Regions from separate parts of the Homo sapiens genome. Here region 1 is linked to region 2. The links are contacts of gene promoters, found by promoter capture Hi-C in blood cells and fetal thymus (Javierre and others, 2016). All regions are on one chromosome and are shown on one strand. The core of a region is centred on a gene start or on the middle of the fragment in contact, and the rest is flanking DNA. Distances in the headings are between cores, read along the strand shown.

Region 1 (2,835 bases), core at 146-2,645, 1.9 Mb before region 2:
ATAAGCAAATGCCGCCTCTGTTTGAACGTTTTGGTATTTACAAGAGAGAAATCATTTTACCTAAGAGAACTAATTGAATTGGCAGCATCCTTGAAATACCTCCGGACAAGGATCTGGGGGTGGGGGTGGAAAAGCAACTGCGAAATAGCAGACGGAGAAATTCCTTTGGAAGTTATTCCGTAGCATAAGAGCTGAAACTTCAGAGCAAGTTTTCATTGGGCAAAATGGGGTAAGGATTTTTGTGCTTAACACAGCTTCGAATCTGTTTATGTATGTGTATTATTGAGCGGTGGTGGTGATTGTGTTTTGTGTTTTCAAACAAACTTGCCACCTTGCTAAGCTGGTCATACTTTAAAGAAATAGGCATGCTAACCTTTTAGGTTATTTTTGCATTTTTGTAGAGCGGTACCAGAGGTCATAATTTAAAAACACATATATCGTTTGTAACTTGAATATGGATTTGTGAGTAATGTTTACAAAGACAACGCATTCTACACTTTACTGGTCAGACTGCTGCATCAGTTTGTAATCAAAATCACATTATTTTAGCTTTTGCTGACGGTTATCTTTCAAAGAGAAGTACTGCATTCTCTCAGTACTTTTAGATAATCAGTTGCACAAAGGAACGATTTTAATGAGTGGTTAGACAACAGTCCTTGAAAGTGATCCAGAGTAAATTGTTGCCCTCACCGTGCCCTCTGTCTTGTCCTTGAATATTCAAAGCTAAAATGTATAGAATTGATTTACTGGGGCGTTAAAACGAAAATCTGAAATTCAGTCTTACTGATGCGGTCACCACGGTACGGGTGCATTTCGTAGGAAAAAGCTTTTTGTTTAAGGAACTTGTTCACTCCTTTTGTTTTTCGCTTTTAAGCTCAGCCCTTCAGTTTGAGTTAACAGTATCAGATCTACACCTTCCTTCGGACCCAGAGCCAACTGAGAGTGCATTTTCCAGTCTTTTATTAACTCTTCACACTGTGGGTTGATGAAATGCTAGTGACACTTCCTAATTTAAGCTGGAAACCCATAATATATTAATGGAGCAATCTGATTTCATTGACAGGTTGTCACTGCTTTTTGGCAGAAGAACTTCCAGAATTTTCTCTTTTTGTGTGTGTGTGGTTGAACAAACACATCTGAAGTGTAGTTGAGGGGCATGTTTTAAAGAATGGACTCTGCAATTCATCGTGATGGTTTAGGTGTGTACACACGCTTGAAACTTTCTGAGGAAAGTTCTTGAATAGTACCTTCCTTTTGGAGTTAGAATTTGAAGTTTAACATGCATAACTTTGAAAATTTAGAGCATGTTGTAGGAGACGTTCCTCAGAAATTAATGACAAAGTTATAATGGTTTTAAAAACTTGAATGACAAGTGATGAGAATATATATAACTTGCATGATTTGGGGGTACCGCTAAGAGTAATTAAAATACCTCATTCTATTTCTAGCGCTGCTATTAGTAGCTTAGTGATCTGAGGCAAATTACTTGACCTCTGTGGACTCTATTTCTTACCTGTAAAATGAACGATTTAGAGATGACTTAAAGATTTCTCCAAACTGTAAAAAACGAATTGCTTTCTTTTTATTCTCCTCCTCATTTTAATGATCACTAGTTGGTTTCTGCAAGTCGATCTTTCTGATGGAGACCTTTTTCACTCTAAGCAGTTTAAGCGCTTAACGCTGAAAAATAATGGCATTTGAAAAATGTTTTGGATGAATTGCACCAATTTTAAATGAGAAAAATACTGAAAAATACTACTGTTCAAAACCTTAGAAATATGGCTTCCCTTGAGCATCTGCAGCTCTGTTTAAAACATGTTGGAGGAAAAAAAATCAAGCAGCAGTTTTTCATGTTGATGGCTGCATTTTGTCTAGACTGTGGAGTAGTAGCATCATGGAAGAAAATCAGTTTTCCAGAACCTTTAAGCTGCATGAATGCCTGTCATTTTACCAAGGGAAGCTTAGGATGAATTTTTTTTTCCCTGCCTGAGGTTTCTTTGTACAAATAGCACAGGAGGACCCCAGCCCCACAGCCCCATGCAGATGGCAGCCTGGCGGGGGGTCGCACCAGTCCTGTCCTCACGTTGGCAGATAGAGATATCTACTCTGAAGCCTCTGTAGGGGCCTGGGCACCTTTGGGAGCCTGAGCTGGAACTGAAGCTGGAGCTGCAGCCTGGGCCTTGGTTTGATCCTTGTCCTTGGCCTTTGGCCAGCACACCCTGAGCCCCTTGGCAATGCGGGCACGAGCATGCTTCCCAAGCTTGGGGTGGACAGTGTAGGCAAGTTGAGCTTGCGGCTGACACCCTTTGGGATCTTGGGCTTAACCTCCTTGGGCTTTAGGAGGGCCTTGATAGCCTTGGCATGTGCACTCATGGCCTTGGCACTGTTAGCCTGCATCTTCTTTAGGCCCTTCTTGTTGTGTTTCTTGGCAAACTGCATGTTCCTCAGGAACTTGGGGTCCACCCCCTTAAGAGATTCGTATCTTTGTGCTTCGGGTTTCTTGATACCATTTCTGTGCCATTTTTGGGACTGGTTGTGTGTGGTGTGGTTCTTGGACTTGGCCATGTCTGCACCTTAAGGCGCGGCTCCTGAAGCGCCTAGAATCTGAAGAGACAGGATGAATTTAATACTAAGGGGGCTGTTGTTTAAAGTGGGAAAGTTAGCACCACACATAACATGCATTTAGACACTTAGCATAATTAATTTGTTTATAAATGAATGTATCTGCCCTTTAGTTAATAAAGTTCTATATATGGACTGAGGAGAAAAAGGAGCGAGCATTTTGTGGTGCTATTTTTTTTTTTTTGGAAAGCCTGTATTTGGGGCTATGACCCT
Region 2 (2,741 bases), core at 72-2,571:
AATGTTAATCAAGTTGGGAGTAGTAAATATCAGTTTTCATTGTGACTGGGTAGAGGGCATTTTTCTTGTGTTGCAAATAAAAATACAAGTCAAATAACTTTAAAAGGGCATTATGTTCTGCTACAAATACAATTGAAACGGATTGTTTAGGAGCAGATCAGAAATGGTACAGAATTTTGCACTTAATTTCCTCAGTTATCATTTACAATAAGAACCTCTAGGCTTGACAGCCAAGTCTAAACAGTAGTAAATTAGTACAAATTTATACTGATTTTACTCTAATAATCGTAATAAAAGCTTATAGATTTGGCACTAATTACATAAATGCCTAATGATCTTGAAAATTACTCTGGTTAGAAATATATTACTAATCTAAACTTTGTTGTTGGCTGGCTCTGAAAAATCAGAACATTAGAAATGGTTCGCTTCACTTGTGCAAAGCACTTTAAATTGTTCAAGTAGTTTAACATATTCAAGAGGAAAATAAAGAGCATTTAACTTTATTTACAGCCTTAAGTGGAGTTGGGAGCCGAGCTGAACTTAGAAACTTTGACCAAAAGAGCGAGTTAGGGGCGAGGATGCGGGCGTGGGCCAAGCGGAAGAGCAGGAGCCGGGAAGAAGCCCGGTGAGAAGAGTGCAGAGCGCTCGAACCCACACTCCGCGAGGGTCCCCAAAGCAGACAGCGGGCGCTGGCGGTGCCAGGGAAGCCGACTCCTCTTTGCGCTCTAGGCCCACTGTGGGGTTGGGGCTCGTATAGACCCCAGGGCACAGCCAGGGCGCCTGGACCCTAGGCGCAGGCCTACTGAGCCGCGGCGAAGTCCAGGCGTTGTCTGAAGGCCGCGGTGTGCCCTCGTCGCGCCCTGGGCTGGCGGGCCAATATGAGCGGCAGGCCCAGAGAGCGCAGGTGGGGGCGACCCTCAGGTCACGCCAGGGTCATGGCCCGCTCTGACCCCTGCTCTGCCCCTGCCCTAGGAAGATGTTAGCTCAGAGGCACAGAGCTACGCCTTCGAAGCGCGCAGCGCCGGCCAAGGGGAAGGAAAGGGGAGCCTGGAGAAAATCGCAGGGAAGAACTAGAGGGAGCCGGGCCCAGAAGCTCAGGGCGAGGCCGAGGCGGCTGAGGCTGCTTTAGCTCCTGCTCCGGGCTGGAGCTGCCAGGGCTGCCGCCGCCGCCTCCTTCAGGCGGGCGCAGGCGAGCGGGCGGGCGGAGTGGGGGACTCTCCGGGCGCTGACATTTGCAGGCTGCCCTCCTGATTGGTCCCCTCGCCGAGCTGCTCACGGGTTCATTCAACTGTTAAGCACCTCCCCGTCTCTCTAAAGGACATTATAATGCAAGAAGCCCCCTTTTTAACCACAAACCGAATTTTCTTTCATTTAGGTGATCTATATATATCTATATCGTATAGCTTATAGCTTATATCTATTTTAAATAACTTAAAGCCGCTAAAATTTGGGGGGGAACAGCTTTCGCCCTGGAGCGGTGCGCGATGCTGTCTCATGCCGACCTCCTGGACGCCAGGCTAGGTGAGTGCGCGCCTCTCGCCCGGGCAGCCAGGAGAAGCCGGGGCAGGAAATTGTCAATTTGTTCCTTATTTTACCTTAATGCGACCTAAATGGACTAATTTCTTTAAAAGTAATTGTGCTGCATTAAAGTTTAATTTGATTTAACATCGCCTTTAAAAAAAAATCTATGGAATATGTAGATCCAAGAAAGGAGTTGGGGAATGTTGTTACTTTTTGTTTTTCTTATTTTTCTCTTCCCCCCTCCCCCGCCTTTTTTTTTTTTTCGAAAGGCGATATACCCCGTGATAATTTGTTAGGAGGTGTTTCTCTCTCTTTTTTCCCTCTCCTGTTTGTTTTGATTTGGGATTTCTTTCTCCTTCCCTCCCCCCGTTTCTCTCTCCCCACCATCTTCTTCTCTCCTCCTTTTCTAAGTGTGGTGTAATTTGTAAAAAATCTGGCATAAAGGAGAAGCTGCTGCCATCAAGGCGGATTTGCTAAGTGTGCTGGTTGAGAAGGAGAGAAGCCAAATTCAACCTCACAGTCATCCCCCCCTCTTCTGCAAGGGACTCAGCGTTGCCAATGGCTGTGAGGAATGCGCCTTTTATTTCTCTGGAAAGAAAAGTTGAAATCTCTAAAGTTTGATTCACGGTTGTCCATAGAGTTCACTCGAGTTTCCTTAATGCTATCTGGGTTGCTGAGCTCTGGGTTTCCGGATTGGGAATCTTCGGTGATGGATGTGACTCCATTTTCCAAACACTTTCTCTGATTTGAGGGGGAGGCGGAGCTGATTTGGGTTGATTTCGGGGGGTGAAAGCTTGGAGGCTTATTCATCTTCCGAAAGTAAGAGGGAATCGGCTGAGGGCCGGAGGTACAGTTCGTCAGGCTGCCGAAGCGCAGGTGCCGCAGCAACCGAGGAATTGTTTAATTTTCTTTCTGCCCCCCGCACCCCTGTGTCCAAAGATTTGCTCTCGATTTCCTGGGGCGCCTGGGGTACGGTTTATGGAAGGGATTCAGAGGCATGTTTTATTGCCGGGACTGGGAGTGTTTTATTGTGGGAGAGACGAAAGCTTGTGCTGTTTACTACGGGAGCCGGCTGCGGCGAGGGCAAGGGGCCGGGAGATATTATTCCAACCCGGCTGTCCAAATTCTGGGGAACCCAGCTGAATACCCTGGGAGTTTCTTCCTTAGGACAAGCGCGGGTGCGGAGGGGGCCGAGGACGGGTTGAAGGAAGGCTGCGCGG

The links. Contacts are between HindIII fragments. The CHiCAGO score rates a contact against its expected background, and 5 or more counts as called.
Region 1: a fragment that was not itself captured here is called in contact with the fragment with the promoter of OTP in region 2 in 2 of 17 cell types (total B cells and naive B cells); the score reaches 17.5 in total B cells.

Annotation. Positions count from the first base shown.
Region 1 is chr5:79,510,164-79,512,998 of GRCh38, reverse strand. HOMER1 (homer scaffold protein 1) reads left to right here. Exons shown (of 9, transcript NM_004272.5): 1 at 1-229. The coding sequence starts at 225. It also overlaps the pseudogene RPL29P15. Among named protein-coding and RNA genes, the nearest start is that of HOMER1, 2.6 kb to the left of the region's middle. The HindIII fragment of the contact is 1,134 bases long and covers 829-1,962 here.
Region 2 is chr5:77,637,293-77,640,033 of GRCh38, reverse strand. It overlaps OTP (orthopedia homeobox), which reads left to right and starts at 1,321. Exons shown (of 3, transcript NM_032109.3): 1 at 1,321-1,521. The coding sequence starts at 1,485. RefSeq lists enhancers at 224-778, 779-1,335. The HindIII fragment of the contact is 2,017 bases long and covers 300-2,316 here.